Linked DNA regions of Homo sapiens: all the other regions are linked to region 1. The links are contacts of gene promoters, found by promoter capture Hi-C in human tissues and cell types (Jung and others, 2019). All regions are on one chromosome and are shown on one strand. Each heading gives the region's core, a stretch centred on a gene start or on the middle of the fragment in contact. The rest is flanking DNA. Distances are from core to core; before and after follow the strand shown. Region 1 holds the start of GREM1 (gremlin 1, DAN family BMP antagonist). Region 2 overlaps FMN1 (formin 1). Region 3 overlaps FMN1 (formin 1). Region 4 overlaps FMN1 (formin 1).

Region 1 (2,601 bases), core at 39-2,538:
CTGCGATCCGAAGGCAATGCCAAGCGAGAGCGGTGGCGCGTCTGTTCTTCCGGAGTCTGTAGTCTACAAATAACTCCGGCCAGCAAGGAGGTGACAGCCCCAATATACCTCCCACTCCCCTGCTATGGCCTTGCTCCGCAAGCTGTGGAGGGGCCAGCGGAGCCAGCCAGGCAGCGAGAGAGAACGAAAGACGCCCAGCTCGTTGCAGCCGCCAACCCGCCTCAGCCGCCAGTCCCTAGTCCTCAGGAGCTAGTGAGGCGCTGCAAGGCGAGGCTGGGGCCTCTAGAACACAGTTTAAGGGGTGCGCGCGGAAGTGGGAACCAGCCGGTGGCCGCTGCCCGGCGCCAGAACGTCTACCATTCAGCCCGGGCGTGCGCGGGGCGGGGAAGAGGCTGGAGTAGAGAAGCGAGCGCCCGCGAGTGCGTGGCCGGTCCGCGAGCGCGTGTGGTGTCTGCCTTGTGAGCACTGCGGGTTCGCTGGACCCCGCGGCCAGGGCCGCGCCCCGCACCGCAGCTGTCGGATTACCCACCGTTCGGTTTTCCGCTGTGGCTGAACACAGCGGCTCTGCCCTTGCCAGTCTCCATCTCACCTCGGGGATCGGCAAATGCACACATCATGGATTCTCCGGATGCTCCAACCCGCGGACTCCAATGGGCGCCCCAAGACGCCCCCAGACCCAGCGCGGCGCCCCAAGCACATGGGACCCTCTCAAGGCAACTCGCCGCGCAGTCAGCGGCCGACTAGCAGGTCCGGATGCTCCTGCGCTCTGGCGGCCTGGACTTCGCGCCCTCGCTAAGCGGGCGCGTCTGCCAGGCGCTGCTGCCACCAGCACCAGGAGCGTGTTCGGGGGCCTCCGGGAGGTGGAAACGGGATGTGGGGGTCATCCTGCCCGCTCCTGACAACTTTTTTTCCTACGTTTCCCTGCAGACCCAGAGCAGCGAGGTCACGGTGTCCGCGGCCTCAGCAGGAAGGACCCCGCGATGGTTCTTCACAATTCACCCCCGCGAACAACGCACCCGAGCCTGCGCGCACGGAGGGCTGCCGCGCGTGGAACTGAGCGGGTCCTGGGTTGGTTTGCGGCCCTCTTCCCTCCGCCCACTCACATCCCTGCCGGGTGCGTCCGCGCTCACCTGTCAGTGCGGCGGGTCCTCGGGGCCTGCGCTTTCGACGCGTGGCGCTGAGTGCGGCCGCGGCCAGAGCCGCCGGGGCTCGGCGCGGGGTCAGCGGGACCGAGAGTGACGCGGCGGCCGTGCACTGGGTCGCCCGGTCCGCGGAAGGCGCACCGAGTGCCAGGCATCGCGCCGTCTCCCGTTTAAATGCCGGCGGCAGAGCGCGGCGCCCGGGGCCGCGCCTCTCCATTGGCCAGGCGCCGCCGCCGCCGCCAGACCCGCTATCCGCCCCCTTTCCCGGTACTGCCCCCGCCCCCCGCACCCCTCCTGCTTCCCCGCGGGGTCCCCTCTCCGCCCGCCTCGCCTCTTTGTCTGCTCCCCCCGCCCGGGCCGGCTGGGAGAGGTCACCCCAGGGAACCGCGCCTGGAATGCACAGCAAATCACATTTTCCGCTCCCGTTGGAGAGGGAAGAGCGGGAGGAAATCCCCCCGGCTGGCGGCCCCTCATTCCTTCTCTGCCCCAGGTCTGGGCTTTCCCTGTCGGCCGCCCGGCATCGCCTGCGTTGGTCCCGCGCTCAGTAGCGGAGACTGCGCTGGGAAGAGCGAGATCTCCGTGGGATCGTGCCAGATTCGGCCATTCTTCCCCTCTGGAGGGAACGGGACTGCGGGATGCTCTGGTCGAGCGGCCGTCGTGGCTCCCCGGCGGCCCCGCCCGAGGCCCCCAACTTCGAGGGCGCTGACCCCGGCGCCCCCGTTAACCTGGCGGGCTCGCTGGCCGCCAGCAGGAGCCTGTCGCCAACATGACACCCTGCTCTCCTCGCCCGCCAAGGGTTCTTTCAGCCCAGATGCCGGCGGCCTCCCCTGTGAGTGTACAGAGGGGAGTCACGGGAGGAGAATAAAACTAAATGACCGTCAAAAGTCAAGGCTTCTGTTCCTAAATTATCTTAAGAGACAGAGAGAAAACAGCCACTGGGCGAGAGGGGTTTTCTGTAGCATATCAAAGACGAATAAGTCAGGAAAATAAAACGTTAGATGAGGAAGTAACTTCCCAGAAATTTAGGACAAAAACCTACCGACGTGTAAAACCAATGTCACATTCCGGATACCAAGTACATAAATAGTTTTCGAAAGATGAGCGAACACTTTCATTTGTTCTCTTAGCCTGAAAAATTGGTTCCTCAAAGAGGCCGTAAGTTTTGTGTGTTGAAGCTAAAGTCCGTGCAAAAATTAACACGTCTGCAAGATCTGCAGACCAGCTCCATCAGCCACGTCAAATGAAGACTTTGAAAAAGATTTGCTACAGAAGGAAATATGAAGGTGTCTGTATTGTCTAACGCGAAATAAACAAAACAATGAAATCCATCAAAAGATACTTACGAAACACCCGTAATTTAAGTACTTGACTAGGAAAACAAAACCAGACCAGAAAACAGCCTATTTTTTTTTTCTCTTTAGTCCGGCGTTAGGGGGAAGAAGCAAGAAACATCTACTAG
Region 2 (2,601 bases), core at 65-2,564, 440 kb before region 1:
GTGGGCAGATCACTTGAGCTCGGGAGTTTGAGACCAGGCTGCACAACATGGCAAAACCCTGTCTCTACAAAATATACAAAAATTATCTGGGCATGATGGCATGTACCTGTTTTCCCAGCTACTTGGAGGAGCTGAGGTAGGAGAATTGCCTGGGCCCAGAAGCTGGAGGTTGCAGTGAGCTGAGATCACGCCACTGCACTGCAGCGTGGGTGACAGAGCGAGACCCTATCTCAGAAAGAAGAAAAACAAAAAGGAAAGCAAAGAGAAGAAAAACTCCATGGAAAGAAGAAGAGCCATTAACCTATTGCAGAACTTCCTTTTTTTTTTTTTCTTTTTTGTTTTTTGAGACGGAGTCTTGCTCTGTCACCCAGGCTGGAGTGCAGTGGCACGATCTCGTCTCATTGCAAGCTCCACCTCCCGGGTTCACGCCATTCTCCTGCCTCAGCCTCCTGAGTAGCTGGGACTACAGGTGCTCGCCACCACACCTGGCTAATATTTTGTATTTTTAGTGGAGACGGGGTTTCACCGTGTTGGCCAGGGTGGTCTCGATCTCCTGACCTTGTGATCCGCCCGCCTCAGCCTCCCAAAGTGCTGGGATTACAGGCGTGAGCCACTGCGCCCAGCCTTCCTTTGTTTTTTTAATCTACTCTTTGAAAAAGCTGCACTCCATCCCAGGGTGGATGGAAAGGAGAAAGGCAGGCAATAACTTGTCCAAAATCACACAGGAGAGGCAGAATTCAAAGCCATCTAGGACTAAATGAGCAAGGGGAGGGGGCAGTAATGGTACTCAGAGAAAGCAGCTGCAGCTGGAGGAGAACTACCCCAGAGGAGCGTGGTCTTCATTAGAGGGCACGCCTACTACCAAACTATAGCCCAGGAGATAGGGAGTCAGGGGATAAAGGTCCCGAGCCCTCTTCCATCTGCCCTCCAATCTGTTACTGTTTCCCAATGGCTAAATCTAGTAGAAGCCACAGGGCAAGGAAACTTGTTGATTGAGTTCATAAAAGTCAGTCTCTTGGTCTTAGGAGGGTGTGAAAGGTAGAGTGTGAATTTGACTGAACTAATAAAAATTTTCCAGTTTAGAAATGGAATACAGGTAATCTGTCTTAGCCGTGTTGGGCTCAGATGGAGTCACAGGGAAAGACTGTGCCAATGACTAGGCAAAGAAAGCTTTGCATTGGCCTTTTAAGGCCAAAATCAATTAGGATGTCTGCCGTCAGCAGACAGAATGACGACAACTAATTCTTGAATCTTATTTTTAGCATTGGTGAAATATGCTATGAACAATAGATAGCATCTACTAAAAGGCAATCATTTCTCATTAGGATGAGGCAGAACAGATATTTCCATTTGGGGTAGAGTGAGGTAATCTACTTGTTTATTGGAAAAAGAATCAAGGGAGAAATCACTGCTGCAATGTTGTCATAGACAGAATGCCAGCCTGGAGCCTGTCAGAGGAAATAGAAGACACGAAGACTCCCTGGGAAGCAAAGTGCTTTTACCTTGAACATAACCAGAGCAGGTCACTTCACAGGCCAAATTAAGATGTATAATTTAGTGTGTGCCTCTGCAGAGCCGCTGCATTTGAGTCCAAGTAGAATGAGGCAATGCTGTTTGAAATAGTCCTGTGAACTCAGCATGGAATTGCAATGCCAGTGTATTTAACCCCAATGCACAGTGATTTCCTGTCCTTTTGCTTTTTTTCTCTTAGGACTTACTGCTCTTTTTCCTCTGGTTTCTTGGATGAAAAATATGTGTGATGATTCCATACTGCATTCTGACTTTCTAATGGGTTGTCACAGAGAAGAGTTTGCCCTGGTCTAAAGCCTTCTTCTGACATGGAACACTCTAGAGGGTTGAGGTTGAAGTTCATTTGCTCAGGGAAGATCCTTTTTTGTTGAAACAACCAGCTAGTCAACCTGGTTTGGCTCAGTCCTCCAGTTCCAATGAGCCTCCTGTGGGTTGTGGTTTTCATGTCAGTTCCATTTTCAAAGCTTTTGCAGTGTTCCATCCCATGTATGTGCCACCCAGTGGCCAGCCTAGGCCCTGGGAAGTTGTCTTATCTCTTCATTTTTTTTCAAAGCCCTTCGTATGGTGTTTAAGTTCAGATCCACAATCCACAGGCTGGGGTTAATTCAGGTATCCATGAACAACTTTATGGGTCACTTTCTAAGATCCTTCTCCATAATCTTTCCCATACTTCTGGGCTCTCTGAGGCTCTGATTTCAGTCCTCTAACTAGAAATCTAGGACTACTAACCCTCCAACTCTTTGGCTGCAAACTTCCTGCAACTCTGCCCACACCCGAAATCAACGAGAGGCAGAACAGAGTGAGAGAAAAAGAAATAGGGTTTTCCCCCATACATCTTGGGACTACAGTTCCTCTAATCATAGAGAAATGTTCTCCTCCCTCAGAGTTTTAGGTGCCAACAAGAAAACTTCTTTCTATTCTTGATTCTGAATTACAGGACTCCTCCTATATCTTCCTCTGTTTGTGCTGATATTCACTGCCATGTTTCAGGCACATTTGAGTCCAGGCTTAGGGGCTACTGAAGGACAAAGTTGAGAAAGTTAGCTGCTTTACAGTTGGTTGATACTTCAA
Region 3 (2,601 bases), core at 40-2,539, 360 kb before region 1:
AGAACCTGCCTCAAGTGACAAAAAGCTAGTGTGTGACTAGTAATATCTCATGCTAAACCCCAATATGTCCCTTTTCAAAGACATAGCCTTATTGCCTCTACTTTTTCTCTGCTCTCTGTTTAAGAATTGGTGTTCCTATTTCTCCACATCCTCTCCAGCACCTGTTGTTTCCTAACTTTTTAATGATCGCCATTCTAACTGGTGTGAGATGGTATCTCATTGTGGTTTAGATTTGCATTTTTCTGATGGCCAGTGATGATGAGCATTTTTTCATGTGTCTTTTGGCTGCATAAATATCTTCTTTTGAGAAGTGTCTGTTCATATCCTTTGCCCACTTTTTGATGTTTTTTTTTTTTTTTGTAAATTTGTTTGAGTTCTTTGTAGATTCTGGATATTAGCCCTTTGTCAGATGAGTAGGTTGCAAAAATTTTCTCCCATGCAGCCATAAAAAATGATGAATTCATGGCCTTTGTAGAGACATGGATGAAGCTGGAAACCATCATTCTCAGCAAACTGTTGCAAGGAGAAAAAAACCAAACACTGCATGTTCCCACTCATGGATGGGAATTGAACAGTGAGAACACATGGACATAGGAAGGGGAACATCACACACCGGGGCCTGTTGTGGAGTCAGGGGAAGGGGGAGGGATAGCATTATGAGATATACCTAAGGTAAATGACGAGTTATTGGGTACAGCACACCAACGTGGCACATGTATACATATGTAACAAACCTGCATGTTGTGCACATGTTCCCTAGAACTTAAAGTATAATAAAAAAAATATATATATATATATTAAAAAAAAAAAAAAGGATGGGCCGGGCGCAGTGGCTCACACTTGTAATCCCAGTGCTTTAGGAGGCCAAGGCAGGTGGATCGCTTGAGCCCAGGAGTTTGAAACCAGCCTGAGCAACATAGAGAAACCCTATCTCTAGAAAACAAAACAAAACAAAAATTAGCCAGGCATGGTGGCATGCACGTGTGGTCCCAGCTACTCGGGGCTGAGGCAGGAAGATGGCTTGCGCCCTGGGAGGCAGATGTTGTGGTGAACTGAGATTGCCCCCACTGCACTCCAGCCTAGGCGACAGAGCAAGACTCTGTCTCAAAAAAATTGGATCATAGCTGTGGCAATGCCTGACTTACCTTCTCCTTTGCAATTTTAGTGCATTGACATTTGTTTCAACAGTTTTCTTTTTAAATGTCTGAATTAATCATGTGGGTATTAGGATCAAAGAATCATTGCTGATTCAGGATTCATTTGTGACCTTTCTACCCTCTGTAAACCTCTAATTTCAGTAGCCATTTGGTTCTGAGTAACCAGCAGATCTATTTTGCCTCCCTTCCTATGTTTAGTAGGAAAGAAAACTGTTATAAAATACCGTAGTTTTTTTTATTTATTGTCATGAAAAGAAACATTTAGAATCAGATGGATCCAGTGCAAATGCTGGCTTTATTGCAGAAAGTTTCATTGGACAGTAATAATCTGTCAAATGCAATTAATGACATCTTTCTCATAGAGTTATGGAGAGGGTGAGGCTGCAAGAAAACTTGCATAAAGAACCGAGCATGGTGCCTACTTGGAACAGCATGCATGCTCCTCCCATCCATCTTCATTTTCTTTTGGGTAAATCCCCACCTTCCCTAGATTTTCTTTTGTCCCCTTTAAAAATATTTTGAAATGATACCTGGATCTTTGGAGTTCGAACTAATATTCTCAAGATAACTTTTACTTTAAAAAAATTAAGGAAAAGAAAAAGTTATAGCAGTAGCCATGAAGTGCCTCGCTTTACTGCATGAGAAGAAGGGAATATAGGCAACAGGCATAAGTAGTCTAATAAATTCCAGGTCTTCATCTTTTATCAGGAGCAACTTAGTCACAATGAAATGCTTTCACCATAGACTCCATGCCTTCTGCTGTCATTAGCCATATGGAACAGCAATATTATGCCTTCACTTTGGGAAAGCTCAAAGCTCTTCTGAAACACATCCCAGGAAATTCTGTACTTTAAAGACTGCTACCCACCAACCCTCATCCCCCTGCCCCCCAGCTTCAGAAGTCACAGCCTTTCTCTCCCCTTTTACATTATTTTACTTTGTCATCAATATTAAATCCATTTCTAGAGGACCTTTGACACTGGTTGGTGGAACAACCCAGTCTTAGAAATATTTGAGAGTAGGATTCTAGCCAGTAATGTAATAACTATTTCAAAGTTGATTTTCATGTCTGTAATCTTTTATTTCATTTGTAATGAAGCAGCACTTTTGAAGTCTAATGAATTGACCCCAAACCAAAAATAAATGAATAAATAAAATGGCTGGTGCTCTGCTATGGAGGACCCAGGCTTGCTCATTGTCTCAGAAGAGTCCTTCCCCAAAGAAGGGAAAATGTCAGTGCTAAGGCACCTAGTCTCATTTTCAGCATGCTTTTTCTCATGAGAAAAGGATGGAAGAAACCCCAAATTCATGGATTTTTTTTTTCTCTCAAATAACTGAGTTGGTTTAAAAATCATGTTGGAGCTTGGGAAACAAAATAAAGAACAGGGCAAACTTTGTCACCTTATGCAGTGGCCACTTGAGAAAACTTTATTCTCTTCTCAAG
Region 4 (2,601 bases), core at 52-2,551, 330 kb before region 1:
CTTGGAGTGGGCTATCAGCATGTGCAGTGGCCTGCCAGCACTTGGGAGGGGCTGCATGTACAGTGTGTTTATTGGAGTTGTACACGTGCTCACTTGAGGCATTTTTCCCTAACCAGTCAAGCGTTTCTAGAGGAAGGTCATATACCAGCTAAAAACTCTGCTGTTTTGCCTCTTCATGCCCATGCTTGAGCCCACTCACCCAACTCCTGAGATCTTACTAGGAAGCTGCTGATCACCAGTTTCAGGTGTTTATATCTATTGGGAGACTGCCTTTCTCTGGCACCAGGTGTGACCAATTATTAGAGCGGCACTGTCACAACCACCTATCACCTGATGGTTGCCCGACATCCTGGTGGTGGCAGGGGACCCTCTCCTGCCCTGCTCATGTCTGACTAGCTACCTACTGTAACAACAGAACCAGGACTAGAAAGTTGGTCTTCTGACTTCCAGTTTAGTTTTTTCTTTCCATTTTTAATGTGGCCCCCATTTCTTTCAGCCCAGCCATAATTCACCTTAACCTTTCCCAGACTGTTTTATTCAATTCTGATTAAAGAGGACACATCTGATTCTCAGGAAGGATAGAAGGAAGCAGTGTAAAAAATCCAAGGAACATACCCTGGAATGATCATACCTAATTCAGAGAATGGTATATATATAGAGGAAAAAGCAAAAATCATCCTTCACTCTATATCCCCCGATCCCTCTGCCTTCTTAAAGGGGGGGTCCTTGTGAACAGTTACTTACATTGCTTCTCACACACTTGTATATGCACTCATGAATACGTATACACTGAGTGGCACATCACAAAATATTTCCACACAAGTGGGGTCATACTATAAAATCTGTTCTAAGATGAGCTGCTTTTTACCATATACTGAAACCTTTCTATGTCAGTGCATACAGGGCACTCTCCCTCTTCCTCATTATTTTAATGGCTGCATAGTATTCCATACAGTAGTAATTTATAGACCTATGCCTGTAGTAATGAACCTTTTGATTGCTCAGAATCTTTCACTGTTTGCAAATAATGCTGTCATTAAATTCTTGTATATTTGGTTTATGCATACCTGTGAGTACCTTGATAGGACTGAAGTGGAATTGTTGTGTCCTGGCCCATTACTTGGTAGATACTACACAGTTGGCCTCTCAGAATATTAAACCAAAGAAAGAATGCCCATTACTCATACTTCACCAGCATTTATTTAATTTATGCCTATGTAATGGGTTAAAAATCACACACTGTTTTTTAAATTTGTATTTTTCTGATATAAGTGGTGTTGGACATCTTTTCATTTATTGACCAGTTGGATTTCTTATGAGCTTCCTGGTGTTCTTGGTCCTTTTGAAAATGAGGTTCTTAGTCATTTTTCTTACTGATTTGAAGAAGCTTTCTATGTATTAAAAAAAAAATCCTTTTATCATTGTATGTATTGGAATCTTAGGCTCTAACTTGCCATGACTCTTCTTTCATGGTGTCTTTCATTATACAAAAGTTTTATGTAGTGAAATCTGGTCTAAAGGAAGCATTTTCCAACCTAAAGTTTAACAATATGTATACAGATGCTTCTTGACTTACAATAGGGTTATGTTCTGATAAACATAAGTTGAGAATATTGTAAGTCAAAATACACGTTATACGCCTAACCTACTGAACATCACCTTAGCCAAGCCTACCTTAAATATGCTCAGAACACACTTTAGCCAACAGTTGGGCAGAATCATTGAACACAAAGCCTATTTTGTAATAAAGTGTTGAATATCTAATATAATTTGTTGAATACTGTACCAGAAGTGAAAAATAGAATGGTTATATTGGTTGTGTTAAAAGAAAAAACTTCAGCTGAATTAAATTTAAAGGAGTTTAATTGAACAATAAACAATTCGTGAATTGAGCAGCCCCTAGAATCATGGCAGAATCAGGGAGACTCCAGTGCAGCCATGTGGTGGAACAACAATTATAGACAGCAAAAGGAAAGTGACGTACAGAAAACATAAGTGAAGTACAGAAGCAACGGGATTAATTAGAGCTTAGTGTTTGCCTTATTTGAACACGATTTGGACAGTTGGCTACATTTTATTGGCTAAAACTCAGTGATTGGCACAGGTGTTGGCTGAGGTCAGTTTACATCTCCACTTGTTATAGTTCACGATGTATAGAAAAACCTGTAGGCTGAACTTAAATATGTAAGAAGGTAGCTTTAGACTAAACTTGATTTAACAATTCCCCTCTTTTGGTCATTTTCTCAATTTTGAGAGATTGACCAAAACTTTAGTCATTACTATCACTATCACCATCATAAATTACTAATTTGGTCTTGAAACCCCCTGGAAACAGAACTGTGAGTTTTGCAAAGGTAGGAACAAGGACTTGAGTAGAGGGTATCCCCTTATGTTGGAACATCTTGTTTTTAGGAGAACAAACCTGGTCTGTTCTGGTCTAGGAGCTATGTGTTTCCTTAAAGTCTCAGTTTGATAATGTCACATTTACCACAAGTGACTTCATTTTTGTTTGGTTTTGTCTGTTGGGGCCTAATGCATGAGCTAAGTCCAAAACAAGGGCCTCCCATAATTTTGTTTAAAAAAAATTCCCCCTTTCTGGTT

The links. The method cuts DNA at HindIII sites, captures the fragments that hold promoters and counts their contacts. A contact is called where the count stands out against the background at its distance.
Region 2: a contact is called between a fragment that was not itself captured here and the fragment with the promoter of GREM1 in region 1, in 1 of the 25 tissues and cell types used here (mesendoderm cells).
Region 3: a fragment that was not itself captured here is called in contact with the fragment with the promoter of GREM1 in region 1 in 4 of the 25 tissues and cell types used here (dorsolateral prefrontal cortex, lymphoblastoid cells, mesendoderm cells and 1 more).
Region 4: a fragment that was not itself captured here is called in contact with the fragment with the promoter of GREM1 in region 1 in 2 of the 25 tissues and cell types used here (heart right ventricle and thymus).

Annotation. Positions count from the first base shown.
Region 1 is chr15:32,716,691-32,719,291 of GRCh38, reverse strand. It overlaps GREM1 (gremlin 1, DAN family BMP antagonist), which reads right to left and starts at 1,288. Exons shown (of 2, transcript NM_013372.7): 1 at 1,131-1,288. It overlaps GREM1-AS1 (GREM1 antisense RNA 1), which reads left to right and starts at 427. Exons shown (of 2, transcript NR_109767.1): 1 at 427-747; 2 at 928-1,191. RefSeq lists enhancers at 1-565, 566-1,144, 1,282-1,782. The HindIII fragment of the contact is 12,229 bases long and covers 1-2,601 here.
Region 2 is chr15:33,159,661-33,162,261 of GRCh38, reverse strand. All of the region lies in intron 3 of FMN1 (formin 1), which reads left to right. Among named protein-coding and RNA genes, the nearest start is that of FMN1, 34 kb to the left of the region's middle. The HindIII fragment of the contact is 3,813 bases long and covers 1-2,601 here.
Region 3 is chr15:33,075,552-33,078,152 of GRCh38, reverse strand. All of the region lies in intron 5 of FMN1 (formin 1), which reads left to right. It overlaps LOC124903459 (a long non-coding RNA gene), which reads right to left. Exons shown (of 2, transcript XR_007064574.1): 2 at 1,434-2,601. Among named protein-coding and RNA genes, the nearest start is that of FMN1, 120 kb to the left of the region's middle. The HindIII fragment of the contact is 4,514 bases long and covers 1-2,601 here.
Region 4 is chr15:33,049,203-33,051,803 of GRCh38, reverse strand. The region is part of intron 6 of FMN1 (formin 1); the gene reads left to right. Among named protein-coding and RNA genes, the nearest start is that of FMN1, 140 kb to the left of the region's middle. The HindIII fragment of the contact is 4,194 bases long and covers 1-2,601 here.